2 separate regions of the Homo sapiens genome follow, and region 1 is linked to region 2. Evidence: promoter capture Hi-C in human tissues and cell types (Jung and others, 2019). All regions are on one chromosome and are shown on one strand. Each heading gives the region's core, a stretch centred on a gene start or on the middle of the fragment in contact. The rest is flanking DNA. Distances are from core to core; before and after follow the strand shown. Region 1 overlaps TCF20 (transcription factor 20). Region 2 holds the start of SREBF2 (sterol regulatory element binding transcription factor 2).

Evidence for each region. Contacts are between HindIII fragments. The study calls those that stand out against the background at their distance.
Region 1: a contact is called between a fragment that was not itself captured here and the fragment with the promoter of SREBF2 in region 2, in 1 of the 25 tissues and cell types used here (spleen).

What each region holds. Positions count from the first base shown.
Region 1 is chr22:42,247,214-42,254,503 of GRCh38, reverse strand. All of the region lies in intron 1 of TCF20 (transcription factor 20), which reads left to right. Among named protein-coding and RNA genes, the nearest start is that of TCF20, 20 kb to the left of the region's middle. The HindIII fragment of the contact is 5,575 bases long and covers 2,845-7,290 here.
Region 2 is chr22:41,827,990-41,835,172 of GRCh38, reverse strand. SREBF2 (sterol regulatory element binding transcription factor 2) reads right to left here and starts at 2,068. Exons shown (of 19, transcript NM_004599.4): 1 at 1,815-2,068. The coding sequence starts at 1,902. It overlaps CCDC134 (coiled-coil domain containing 134), which reads right to left. Exons shown (of 7, transcript NM_024821.5): 7 at 3,009-7,183. SREBF2-AS1 (SREBF2 antisense RNA 1) reads left to right here and starts at 508. Exons shown (of 2, transcript NR_157279.2): 1 at 508-730; 2 at 1,193-7,183. RefSeq lists enhancers at 1-152, 1,943-2,599, 2,205-2,714, 3,541-4,080, 4,081-4,621 and silencers at 1,375-1,764, 1,825-2,164. The HindIII fragment of the contact is 7,421 bases long and covers 872-7,183 here.

The DNA.
Region 1 (7,290 bases), core at 4,383-6,882, 420 kb before region 2:
TTACAAGGGCTGGACAATACCCAGTATATATCATGATACCACAGGCACCCTGGCTCTGGACTCTGTGCCCTTAACCTGTACCCTGTGTGAATGTTTAATTTAAATGAGCTGGAATATAACTTGCAGGATAAGTTTGTGGCCATTTGAAGAGGAAGAGTTTAGTTTTGGATTATAGAAACAAAGAAAAAGAAAGTGGAGTGGAGCTGGGAAGTACCATCCTGGGATCTACCTGGGAGAATAGTCTGCTGTGTGAGGGCAAGGACTTGTCTGTTGCCCATCATATTCCCAGCATCTAGAACAGTGCTTGATATGTAGCTAATGCTTAGCAGATATTTTTGAGTGAATCAGTAAATAAAATTTCGCTGCCAGCTCTCAAAGGAATATGCTGTGGAAGCTTCAGTTACTTTTTTTTTTTTTTTTTTTTTTTGAAAGGGAGTTTTGCTCTTGTTGCCCAGGCTGGAGTGCAATGGCACGATCTCAGCTCACCGCAACCTCCGCCTCCCGGGTTCAAGCGATTTTCCTGCCTCAGCCTCCCAAGTAGCTGAGATTACAGGCATGCGCCACTACACCCGGCTAATTTTGTATTTTTAGTAGAGACAGGGTTTCTCCATGTTGGTCAGGCTGGTCTCAAACTCCTGACCTCAGGTGATTCTCCTGCCTGGCCTCCCAAAGTGCTGGGATTACAGGCATGAGCCACCATGCCCGGCCTCTTCAGTTACTTTTTTCTCTTTGGTTCATGGTTCAGGATCCTTTCTGAATTAATAAATTTATTACTTGTTTTTACTAAACTTATTTTGTTCAGCTTTTCAAGGAATGCCAGTTCACTCTACTGTTTTCAGGGTTTTTAAAAAATCAACTTGCTTTCAAAATCAAAATATTAGATTTTAACATTCCAGCATAAATCTTTTTATATAAATAAAACTTTTGTTGATGCTTTTGGTTTTTCATACGCCTATATTTAAGGGGTAAATCTTGAAAATATTACTAAGGAATTGGAATTGACATCTAATTATAGTAGTTGAGATAATATATTTATGTAATCCCTTTTAGAGAAGTTTAATAAATATTTTTCAACAGACAAAGCATTATCTCTACTTTATTTTTTTTTCTATATTTTGATACTAGCCCGTCCTGTATCTGTTGAAGAAGCTTTCTTAGTGATTCGTTAGGAAATTCTCTTTCTGGAACCCAGTGACAGTGCAACTCAAGTAGCGTCTCTACTAATGTGAAGTCACAACACTGATCATGTAGAACTCATGTATCTGATTTCATTAGCAAATTAGTAGATGGTGTAGGTTTCTAAGGAAGAGTGAACTAATGCATTCTCTTTGCTTTAGTTTACATTAAATCATTAGGGAATAGGGAAATAGGAAATTTTTTCTTTTGCCACTTATAAATGAATAAAGCCTTAGTTTTTGTTTTGTTGTTTTTTTCCTATGGCCCCCTGTCACTTGAAGGCCTTAGTTTTATAAACCAGTATTTTGCTTCTCTTATTGACCTGATTCAGTTTATTAGCCTTTTATTAAAATATATACTATATACTTCATAATATTTTATTTTTGTTAAACATTTGACTCTACTAAATTAAATATTTGAAAAAATCTCACTATAACAGTATTTTTATTCTAGAGTTAAAATGGTTGTATGAAAATAGTTATTTTTGTTAAAATAGTTTTATATATAGGGATAATTATATACGTTTAAAAATGCCAAGATTGTTACTCTAGTGTTTCAGTTAAAAAAGCTTTTAAAGGCTGGGCACCGTGGCTCACACCTGTAATCCCAACATTTTGGGAGGCCGAGGTGAGCAGCGGATCATGAGGTCAGGAAATTAAGACCATCCTGGCCAACAAGGTGAAGCCCCGTCTCTACTAAAAATACAAAAATTAGCTGGGCATGGTGGTGCGTGCCTGTAATCCCAGCTACTTGGGAGGCTGAGGCGGGAGAATCGCTTAAACCTGGGAGGTGGAGGTTGCAGTGAGTCGAGATGTGCCACTGCACTCCAGCCTGGCGACAGAGCTGGACTCAGTCTCCAAAGCTTTTAAAACTGTCTTGTGTGTGGATAAAGGTGATTTTTAAGAATATTTTATAAAATATTACCGAAGTTTATGTTTGTAGGTGTTAGCTCTCCCAAAGACTTCTTGAATAGTTGTTTCAGACGGGTTTAGGCCATAATTCTGAAAGAGACAGTTCTTTTTTTTATTTTTTTCTTTTTTTTTTTGAGATGGACTTTCGTTCTGTCGCCCAGGCTGGAGTGCAGTGGTGCTCGGCTCACTGCAACCTCTGTCTCTTGGGTTCAAGTGATTCTCCTGCCTGAGCCTCCCAAGTAGCTGGGATTATAGGTGCGTGCCACCACACCCGGCTAATTTTTTTGTATTTTTACAAAAAAAAATACAGGTAGAGACAGAGTTTCGCCATGTTGCCCAGGCTGGTCTTGAACTCCTGACCTCAGGTGATCTGCCCACCTTGGCAGGGTTTTGCCACGTTGGCCAGGCTGGTCTCAAACTCCCGACCTCAGGTGATCTGCCCACCTCAGCCTCCCGAAGTGCTGGGATTACAGGCATGAGCCACTGCGCCTGGCCTAAAAGACACAGTTCTTGATGCCATAATCCCAAATACTGAAATCCCAAAATATCGAAATCCAAACAATATAATTCTGGAAAAAATAATTTTAAAACATTATTTAAAAAATACTTATTTGGGCCAGGTGCGGTGGCTCACTCCTGTAATCCCAGCATGTTGAGAGGCCTAGGTGGGCAGATCACTTGAGCTCAGGAGTTTGAGACCAGCCTGGCCAACATGGCAAAACCCCGTCTCTACTAAAAATATAAAAATTATCTAGGCATGGTTGCAAGTGCCTGTAGTCCCCGCTACTCGGGATGCTGAGGCACGAGAATCACTTGAACATGGGAGGCGGAGGTTGCAGTGAGCTGAGATCATGCCACTGTACTCCAACCTGGGTGACAGAGTGAGATTCTGTCTCAAAAAAAAAAAAAAAAAAAAAAAAAAAAGACACTTGTTTGGCCAGGTACAGAGTCTCACACCTGTAATCTCAGTATTTTGGGAAGCCAAGGTGGGCAGATTGCTTGAGCCCAGGAGTTCAAGATCAGCCTGGGCAACGTGGAGAAACCCTGTCTCTACAAAAAAATACAAAAATTAGCAAGCTAGCGTGCACCTATAGTCCAGCTACTTGGGAGACTGAGGTGGGAGGATCTCTTGGGTCTGGGAGGCAGAGGTTGGAGTGAGCTGTGATGGCGCTGTCTGGGCAACAGAGCAAGACTTTGTCTTCAATAAACAAACAGAAAAACCACTTATTTACCTTTTTTAAAGGGGATTTATTTGAGAAACAAAAACATGACAACACTTCATAGGCCACTTAATATAGTTTGGATATGTGTCCCTGCCCAAATCTCATGTTGAATTGTAATCCCCAATATTGGAAGTGGAGGCTGGTAGGAGGTGATTGGATTATGTGGGTGGATTTTTCATGAATGGTTTAGTACCATCCCCTTGATGCTGTCCTCGAGACGGTGAGCGACTTCTCGCGAGATCTGGCTGTTTTAAAAGTGTGGCACCTCACACTCTCTCTTGCTCAGTCCTCATCATGTGATGTGCCTGTTCCCCCTTTGCCTTCTGCCATGATTGGAAGCTTCCTGAGGCCTTCCTGGAAGCAGGTGCCACTATGCCTCCTGTACAGCCTGCAGAACTGTAAGCCAATTAAATCTCTTTTCTTTTAAGTATTCCTTCATAGCAATGCAGGAACAGCCTAGTACACCACTTTACACAATAAAATAGTAACAAATGTATTTTGCAAGTTTAATCACTCAGTATACTAACCGTAGTTGCATGGGTGTTACATTTTGTAACTGTGGTCCTCTGAAATACCATGATGGACAAACTAGGTCTTTTGATGAGGTAGTAAAAACAAGGATGGGTCATCACTGTGTGTGCAGTCTCCTGAAGAGCAGAGATATTGTTGAATTTTATCTTTCACAAAAACAGTATAAAAAAAGGACATCTCATTGAAGGTTCACCTTTTTTTTTTTTTTTTTTTTTTGAGATGGAGTTTCACTGTTGTTGCTGAGGCTGAAGTGCAATGGTGTGGTCTCGGCTCACTGCAACCTTTGTCTCCTGGGTTCAGGCGATTTTCCTGCCTCAGCCTTCCAAGTAGCTGGGATTACAGGCGCCCCGCCACCACGCCTGGCTAATTTTTGTATTATTAATTTTTGTAGAGACAGGATTTCACCGTATTGGCCAGGCTGGCCTCGAACTCCTGACCTTGGGTGATCTGCCCGCCTTGGCCTCACAAGTGCTGGGATTACAGATGTGAGCCACCGTGCCTGGCCAGTTTCAACTTTTTTTAAAGAGACCATAGTCTTCTAGCTATGTTGCCCATGCTGGAGTGCAGTGACTATTCACAGGCATGATCATAGTGCACTTCAGCCTCAAACTCCTGGCCTCAAGTGATCCTCCTACCTCAGCCTCCCTAGTAGCCGGGACTGACTACAGGTGCTCCACCACACCTGGCTTCTACGTTTTGATGAACACAGCCAGAGCTTACACATGAAGTCAGTGTTGTGATAATGCACTTCTGTGGAGTTCAGTTTGCAAAAAAAAAATGCATAGAATTAATTAGAACTCTCCAAAAGTCTCTACACAATTTATATCTCCAGTATTAGAAATGATGTGAAGATAAAATATATAGCATAGCAAATTGGCACTATGTGTGAAGGAGCAGAAATAATACACCATTGAATAATTTGGCAGGGGAGATTTCTTGTATTTTTTGCCTGTATTTTCACTTCTGCGATCTTCAAAGCACTTGCTCCAGTTTTATTTGCAAAGTGGTTGTGATCCACAAATTTTGTAAGTATATACTGTCTATTTGAAAGCCTGATTATTGCCTGGCCGTTGCAATTTCTGCTTTTGCAGCACCAGTGATAATTAGCTTTTAAACTTTTATCTTTCGCCATTAAGTAGCCGTGTACACTTATCAGAGCCTTTTTGCGAGGGAAGAGTTTCACAGATCTCTTCAATTGTGCTGTAAAGAATAAAGTAAGAAGAACTGATACTCAGCTTCCCCAACACCAAATCTGCATTAGTCAGGGTTCCCTAGGGAGACAGAACCAATAGGATATGTGTATAGATATGAGGGAATTTATTAGGGGAATTGGCTCATATGATTAATGGTGGCTGAGAAGTCCCATGACAGATCATCTGCAGGCTTGAGACCCTGGGATGCCAGTAGCATACCTCAGTCCAAATCCAAAGGCCTCAGAACCAGGGAAGCTAATGGTGTTATCTCTCGGTCCAAGGTCAAAAAGCCTCAGAATTCAGGGGGCCACTGGTTAAGTCCTGGAGTCCAAAGGCTGGCAAGCCTGGAGTTCTGATGTCCAAGGCAGCAGAAGAAAAGTCTGTTCTAGCTCTCAGCAATTCACCTTCTGTGTACTCCCTGGGCTCCTGGCTGATTGGATGATACCCACCAACATAGAGGGCTCTCCTTGCCTACTCAGACTCGCACACTAATCTCTGAAAACATCCTCACAGACACACACACAACACAGTGCTTTACCAGGTTTCTAGGTGTTCCTGTCAAGTTGATAGCTAAAATTAAGTCCACAAATCTATCCTCGGCAACTTGGTACCCATAGGCATCTCCTTAAACCATACTTAATTTCCAGATAATGACAATAGCAAGGTCATAGTTCCACCTAGCATGGTGTAACTATTGTGTACAACCAAAACTATGCAAATTCCCTGCCCCAAAATTCGGCTTTTGGGATTTCATCATTTGGGATTTTAATCTTTTGGGGTTGTGGTTTTAAACATTAGGGATTTTTAGACTTTAGTCTTTTGGGATTTTAACATTCAGGATTATGGCATTTGGGATTATGATTGGTACTGATTGCAGACAGTTTTTGCTAAATCTAGTGTTTAGATATAGCAGCAAAATAATTTCTATGTATATTTAATCACTGATGTAGTAAATCAGTAGTTAATATTTACAGATCCCTTACCCAGTACCAGGCACAGTGCACGTTTTATATTCATTATTTAATTCTCTCAGAATAACCCAATAAAGTCAGTATTTTATCTGTAAAACGGGGATAAAGAAACAGACTGAAGAGAGATTCATTCATTTGGAAGAGGTTCCTCAGCCACCAAGTGATAGAGCCAGGGCTGGCATGCAACTCTATGTGGCTTCAAAACCTGTTTCTCCCTTTTAGTGTAAAATGTATACTTTGTAAAAATGTACACCATGTGGCTGCTGCTTTCTCCCCACACTGACAGGCTTTCCCTGCCCACCTGAGCCCAGGCAGCGCCCACATGAGTACGTGCTCTCTCCCTCAGCCCTGTTCTCCCTTCACAGCAATTATCTGACAGTCTTGTCTTGTATCTGTTTCCTTCACAAAATGTAAGCACCATGGGATGGAAACTTTGCCTACTCCATCCCTGTCTGCATCCATGTTTCCTAGAGTAGTGCCTGACACACAGTAGGAGCCAACATATTTGTTGTAAAGGCTATGAACCAGAAGGTTGTATCAGTCTACAATATTCACTTTTTAAGTCACTTCTGTAGAACAGACTATTAATTTTTTCTTTCTAGTTAGTGATTTTAAGTGAGGAAATTGAAGAGAGGTGTCTTGAAGAGATGCGGAGGAACCAGTCAAGTAGGAGACAGGTCAAGGCTTGTGGAAGTAGAGATTGGTAGTGGTTTAAATGAGCATGGTGCTGGACCTGCCTGAGCTCTTGTAGCTTCGTGAATAGTAACCTTTCTTCCCCAGTCCCTGGTCTAGTGTCTTCCCAACTACTGCCAGAAAATCTTCTGAAAGGTAGCTCTTGTCGTATCCTTTTCATTTGTGTACTGAGTTAAATTTAGACACCTTGCCTTGGTCTTCAGGGTTCCATGGTAGGACCCTGCCCTGCCTCTCTAACCACATCTCCTGGTTTCCCCAGTTGTATCCTCTGCTGCAGCTCGGTGTCCCCAGAGGTGCCTTTATTTCCAGGTCTGGGTCCGTGTCCTCTTTTCTGTTCTCCATCTTATCTTTTTTTTTTTTTTTTTTGAGATGGAGTCTCGCTCTATCACCCAGGCTGGAGTGCAGTGGCACCATCTCGGCTCACTGCAAGCTCCGCCTCCCGGGTTCATGCCATTCTCCTGCCTCAGCCTCCTGAGTAGCTGGGATTACAGGCGCCTGCCACCACGCCAAGCAAATTCTTATATTTTTAGTAGAGATGGGATTTCACCATGTTGACCAGGCTGGTCTCTAACTCCTGACCTCAGGTGATCCA
Region 2 (7,183 bases), core at 819-3,318:
AACTAAATAAATAAAAATTTAAATTTAAAAATCAGATAAACAAAATAAGACAAATAGGAATTGATCATGGAATAGGAATGCAAAATGCACATGAATTTCTTTCTGTGCCCTTGCAGGTAGGCAGCTATAGACATACAGTACTTTCTACTGGCTGTGTAATCTTCAGTAAATTAATGAACCACCCTGGGCCTCACTTTCAGGATCAGTGAGAGGGAGATGACAAGTATAACAGTTCTCTCTACCTGACAGGGTTGTTAGGAAGATTGAGAACATTAACGTGTATAACTGTTTAACACCGTCTGGCACAGAAGTTCTCAAAACATGTTAGCTGCCCTTGCTATGTTCCCAACCCCCACCTACCCCATCCCCCATTTGTTAACCCATTTCTGTATTTAGAAGCACTTAGCAAAGAGTCTGTGGTTAGAACTGGGGCTTCAATTAAGGGTCTTATCACACTGCCCACATGACCAAAATGGAAATCAAGGACAAACCAAGGGGAGAAATATTACAAAAGCAAAATGGGAAAATGGCAAACAGATCCTTTTCAATTAGCTGCTGCATTTATCTCTTCCCCCAAAAGAGAATCTTCTGCTGCTTCTGCTTCTTCATCTGCACAACGGGGATGTAGCCATCATACATGCCTGCAAGGCTGTAGTGAGATCCTGGACATGAAAGCATTCTGAAAACTGAAAAGTACAATGCACCTGTGTTTCTGCCTAAGCTCTCTAAGGTGAGTGGCCTTAGATAAGTCAACATCTCCTGGCCTCGGCTTCTTTAATTACCGTATTAAAATAGAGGTAATAAGAGTATCTCACAGGATTGTTGTGAGGAAGAAGTGAAATAATACAAAGCATTTTGGGGCCTAAACATAAGAGTGCAACTATCCAGTTAATAAGATTACTAGCCTAGTCAACTGGACTCTTTCTTGAAAGGAGGGGTATAAAAAAACCAATACTGGCCAAGGAACTGCAAGAACTAGGCTCTAACCAGCTGGGTGACCTTGAGCAAGCCGCTGACCCTCTCCAAATCGTTGTTCCCGTGGTCGCAAAATTAGTATTTTAAGAGTGGATCCCTGGGCTCCTACCAGCTCTTCCACTCCGCTGTTAAGGCGCTGGAACAAAGGCCACCCGCTCCCCAGCCCGTACCCGAGGGGCCACAACTCAAAATTTCTTCTGCTCAATTCCCCTTGCAGCGTGACAGCAGGAGCGCCCGGGTCTCCATCCCGGAGAGATGTGTCCACACTCCGCCGCCACTGCTCTCTTCATCAGCAACTTGCTTCTGCAGTCGCTGCCCAAAGTTTCGCGGAGCACCCGGCGACCTGGCCGTCGGTCAATCCTGAGAAGCCCAGGGATTCGGGGCGCGGAGACTGGGGGCTGGGCCCCGGGAATCCCAAAGACGTCCCCGCGGCCAGGAAGGGAGTGACAGGTGCGACGCGCGGTCGCGGGCGGCGGGAGAGCGGACCACGGAAACCGCGTGTGGGCGCGCGAGGGAGGCGGCGGCCACGCGCTCTCCTTAGGCCGCTCCCTGAGACGCCCCCGCGACGTCCCTAGCCCCGCGCTCTGGAACCCGCGACCCTCGCGCCGCTTTCGGCCCCGCGGCGCCCCAGATCCCACGGCCTCCCGGAGCGGCGCAGCTGGGTCGGGCTCACGCTCGCAGCGCCGGAAGGGTTGAGGACCGCCGGGGGCACCGTGCGCACGGGGTTCTTCCCGCGCGAACCGGGGCTGTCGGGGGGTGGGCGCACGCGCACCCGGGCGCGCCGCCGTAACCCCTTCCTCCCCGCGCGGCCCCCGCACTCCCACCCACCCACCACTCACCGTCGATGTCTCCCAGGGTCAGCTCGTCGCCCAGCTCCGTGAGGGTCTCCATGGTCTCCAGACCACCCAGCTCGCCGCTGTCGTCCATCGCCCGGCTCAGCGCAGAAGCCCCCCCTGCCGTCCCGCTCAGGGAGACGCGGGGGCGGTGCCGTCGCCACCGCCCATGACACCCGACAACCCCCGCCCGGCACCGCCTCACCGACGGGTGCCACCCGCCGCCATGTTTGCGTTGCGCCCGGGCGCCGCACAGAAAGGGCGGGGCGGGATTCCCCCGCCCCAGCCCGCGCCCCCTGCGGCCCCGCCTCCAGGCCGCGCGCCCCCCTGTTTGTTGTCAATGGGACCAGGCTCATCTCAGCCAATGGGCGAGCGAAGCGGTGCGTGGGGTGATGGCGCGTCATCGATCAGCAGCTCAGATTTGCATAGTGAGGTCCCTCCCCCCGCGGCCTCGGAGCGAATGCCTGGAGTAGCCGTCCGGTCATCATCTTAACCTTCTCCGCCTTGTTTAAAGGAGCCGCTGCCTTCTCCGTTGGATCTGCGCCACACGCAAGTCCGTCCACTGGCCTGGGAGTGAAGGGTTAACAGGCCACCCTCCACCTGCGACCGCTGGCCGCCTCCAGGCCTGGCTGGGAGCACATTACGTCATCTTCCCAGCTGCCTACCCCCGCCCTGCCCGCCTGAGAAAGCCAGCGGAGTCAAACCTGGACCCCAGCGCTCGGGACGGGAGTCCGGGTCATCCAAGTCCCGCTTCTCCCAGCCTCCTTACAAAGGCGGGCACGGAGGCTTGACAAGGTTGCAGATTGTCCCAGGGCGGTCAGGATTTTACGTCTTCTGCTTTGCACCCGCCGTGACCTCGCGCTTACTCCAGTGGTCCTCAATCTCTGGCACCTCGGAACCACTGAGGACCTGAAAACCACGCCAGTGCCCAGGCCCACCGACGGCCTCCTGAGAGGGGGGCCCCGGGCACGAGTTTTTTGAAAAAGTTCCACCGGGATTCTGAAGTGCAGCCCACCCACTCCTTCAAGCACCTCACTGCCCCATCTTGCAGCTGGTCGTGTTGTAAACTTCTAGGAATTTATCCAAAGGAATAAAAATTACAAGTGCTTAAAGAAGTGCTGTAACTAGGAAGAAGTGAGAATAAGGAAATGAATATGTAAATTACATCCACACGATGGAATACCATGGGATCATTAAAAATTACGCACACAAATGTATATTTATTAGCAAGAAAAGGCGTTCACAATATATTGATAAAAGGGAAAAGTTGAAGTTTCCTGCCAGTTTGTGAGAGGCAGCTGTTGCTTAGTGATCAATAATTAAGAACACACAGGCTGTGTGGAGGCAGACACATGGATCCACTAATTCACTGTGACCTTGGGTTAATTGTTCTAAGCCTCAGTTTAGTCATCTCTAAAATGGGGATAAAATAGCATCCCTCATAGCTGTGGTTAAGTGAGATTATTTGCACATTCAATTGACAATATTTATTGAACATCTCTGTGGCAGGGAAACAAATGGTTCCTGCCCTCTGAGAGCTTCCAGTCTAGCAAAAAAAAAAATCAGAAATCCCACACCCGTATTAAACATAAAAATAAATTACAGATGATGGTACAAGTGATCAAGGAAAGGTAATGGATGTGATGAAACTAACAAGGGCCCTGACTTGTGCTGTCAAGAAGCCTCTGAAGAAGTGACATTTAAGATGAAACCTAAAATTATGAGAGAACTGCAGCTGTTACAGCCAAAGGGGAAATGATGACATGGACAAAGGCCTCGAGGCAGGAGGAGCTGCTGGCAGCCAGCTCTCGGCATAAGCTTTGGCATACAGTAAGTGCCTTGCATACTGCTGTATTGCAATTGAAAAAATAAGGATCTGGCCAGGCGCGGTGGCTCACACCGGTAATTCCAGCACTTTAGGAGGCCGAGGTGTGCAGATCATTTGAGGTCAGGAGTTGGAGACCAGCCTGACCAACATGGTGAAACCCCGTCTCTACTAAAAATACAAAAATTAGCCGGGTGTGGTGGCGCATGCCTGTAATCCCAGCTAACCGGTAGGAGAACTGCCGGAACCTGGGAGATAGAGGCTGCAGTGAGCTGAGATCATGTCGCTGCACTCCAGCCTGGGAGACAGAGCAAGACTCTGTCTCAAAAAAAAGAAAGAAAAAATACAAAGAGAGTCCGGGCAAGGTGGCTCACGCCTGTAATCCCAGCACTTTGGGAGGCTGAGGTGGGCGGATTGCCTGAGGTCGGGAGTTCGAGACCAGCTTGGCCAGCTTGGTGAAACCCCGTCTCTACTAAAAATACAAAAATTAGCCAGGCGTGATGGTGCATGCCTGTAATCCCAGCTACTCAGGAAGCTGAGGCAGGAGACTTGCTTGAACCCGGGAGGCAGAAGTTACGGTGAGCAGAGATCGCGCCATTGCACTCCAGCCTGGGCAACAGGAGACTGCGTCTCAAAAAAAAAAAAAAAAAAAAAAGAAAAGAAAAGAAAAAATAAGGATCTGTGTGCTCACCTGAAGGTTAAAAACGATGGAAGACCCAACAGCTGGCTGTCAGACATAGTTACAGGAGTAGTGAGATTTGGGGTGAATTTTACTTTTGGAGTGAATTTTACTTTCTTTTTGGCATTTCAGTATTGCTTAAATTACGTTTTATAATGAACGTGTATAACTAATGAGAAATAGATAGTGTCTTATTTTTTGGGAAAGCAAGACAACATTGTTCTCGTCATTGTTCACACACAGGGAGGCTGGTATAGAATACACCAGTCTCACCCTGAAAGACACAGAAAACTAAACCCTGCTCTGGACACAGCACTGAGCAGGAAGGTGCCACCTTCAACTGTGCTGCCCAGTGGCTCTTGCAAGGCCCCTCACACTGGTGTGTGACTGGTACTCTGGGGGGATTCAGCAACAACTCCCATACAACTCACTCTGGCCCAGGGCACCCCCCACAACCCAGAACCTCAGTGACCCCCTCCAGAGGTGGCACACAGCACCTGCTCCCATAGTTCCCCACTGAGCCTGCCCAGAGGGCGTGATGCCTCGCCAAGTGGACTGAAGGGGTACAACTGAAGGCTCAGTAGAAATGGTGGAAGAAGGGTGGCTGGACCCGAACCTCAGGAAGCACTGATATTTTCCCTCTGGCCCTGGATCCCATGTAACTGAACATCTCTTCCAGGTGGTACCTTGCTCTGGCTAGCAGGAGGACAAGGGCTGGCTCTGAGAGGTAGAACAGCTTTTGACAAGTCACTCCTCAGAACCTGAGCTCTTCATCTGAAAAGAGATGGACAGCCGGGCACGGTTGCTTACGCCTGTAATCCCAGCACTTTAGGAGGCCGAGGCAGGCAGATCACGAAGTCAAGAGATCGAGACCATCCTGGCCAATATGGTGAAACCCATCTCTACTGAAAATACAAAAATTAGCTGGTCATGGTGGCAAGCACCTGTAGTCCTAGCTACTCAGGAGGCTGAGGCAGAAGAATCACTTGAACCCGGGAGGCGGGGGTTGCAGTGAGCCGAGATCGCACCACTGCACTCCAGGCAGGCAACAAAGTGAGACTTGTCTCAAAAAAAAAGAAAAAAAAGAAAGAAAGAAAGAAAAGGGATGGATTAGACTGGGTAACCACTATGTTTCGATATCTACCATGGATTGGGCATGTGCTACGGGTCACAGAAGATAATTTTGTATATGGTTTTTCATTTACTTCCTCTGACACTTTCCCCTTTTTCCCACAGCACCTGTCCTTTTCTTCCTCTTCCCCTAATCTTTCAGGATTCAGTTCAGATATTACTTCCTCTAGGAAGCCTTCCAATTGGATTAACCAAAAGCATGTACTCCACTGTTTGACACAGAGATGGGGTTAGAGAGGGAAATAACCAGTTTGGTTTTGGAAACATAAGCGATGAGAATTATCAGGTAGTAACCGGGCGAGTATTCAGCTTTTAGGTCTTAGAGAGTATGGCTGCCCAAAAAGAAAATAGAAACAGCTCCATAAAAAACTTCATGCAAACGGGGGCAGGTGAGGAAAGAAGAATCCGGAAGAGAGAGTCAGCTCAGACTTGACAGCAGAGAACTACAACAACAAGCCTGAGAGAATCACCTCAAGGAGCTGTCAACAGCATCTCTCTGAGGACAGTGATGGGGAAGGGGAGGAAGATGTGGGACTGGAATAAGGAGAAGGGCTGTGGACCAGAGAGGTTTTCCCTCCCAGTGGACATCTGGCAATGTCTGGACACATTTTTGGTTGTCGTAACTGGGGGACTGCTACAGGCACCTGGCAGGGAGAGGCCGGGATGCTGCTAAAATAGCCTACAACACACAGGACAGCCCTCTTCACACTCACACACCCAACGATTACCTAGCCCCAAACGTTAATAGTGCCGCTGCTGGAAAACGCTGTCTTAAAGGATATCAGGGAGCTCACAGACTAGCAGCTGAGTAGACAGGAGCAATGTCCAAGATCACACTGAAAACACCACTGTTGCCACCACTGGGCACCCTGGCACTGGTCACTGGACTTGGCATTAGAGCCACCCCTTCACTGCTGCCCCTGGTACCTGTGACCACTACCGCCACCAGCACGACTCCCACAGTGGTATATGCAGTTGGTAGCGCTATAGTGACCTAACAATCCCAGCTGCAAGAGGCAGCTGGACAAACATGTGCCCTAGGGCCTTTACAGCTCAGGGGGTGGGCTCTGTCTGCAGTAAGACTCAGCAAGTGGACTTCCTGGAGCAAGTGACTATAACAATCAATAGTGGCAGTAAAGGGAGGGAGAGAGGGAGCGAGTGGAGTAGTTCTATTTGTTTCTTTGAAGGTGCCCATTTGAGGGCAGAAAGGACAGGATTAACCAGGTTGGAGAGAGGATGACGGTATTAGAGGAAAGAGCCCAGGAGGAAGGAGGTGCCAGAAGGGGCAGATGAGGAGATAGTTCAAGACCAGGCCCCACTCTTTGGCTCTGCATATATAGCAGGCAGTCAGTAAATACATGGGATGAACAAGGAACCGTCAGAGAAGGGCACACATCACTGAGAAGTCACTTAAATTCCAGGTTTCATCCTTTCAACCACTGGGCATTCTGAGATGGGGGGCCCAAGGATCTGAGTGTGAAGAGCCTGGTTCTGATAACAACAGCTGGCAAGAGACAGCCCAGGCTGGTCCCAAGTTGCCCAGGTCTTGCCACCACACTGGGCTGGCTTCCCCATTGCTCTGCAGTTGCCCAGCTCTGCTTCAAATTATACAAATCCTGCTAATGACAGAGCCCGTAGAAGTTATTCAGTAGAAAGAACCTCCAGCCGAAGCTGGACCCACCACTGACTGTCCTGAGGTATGCTTTAGCCTCCCTGCCACCCCAAGAAAGCTAGGTCTGC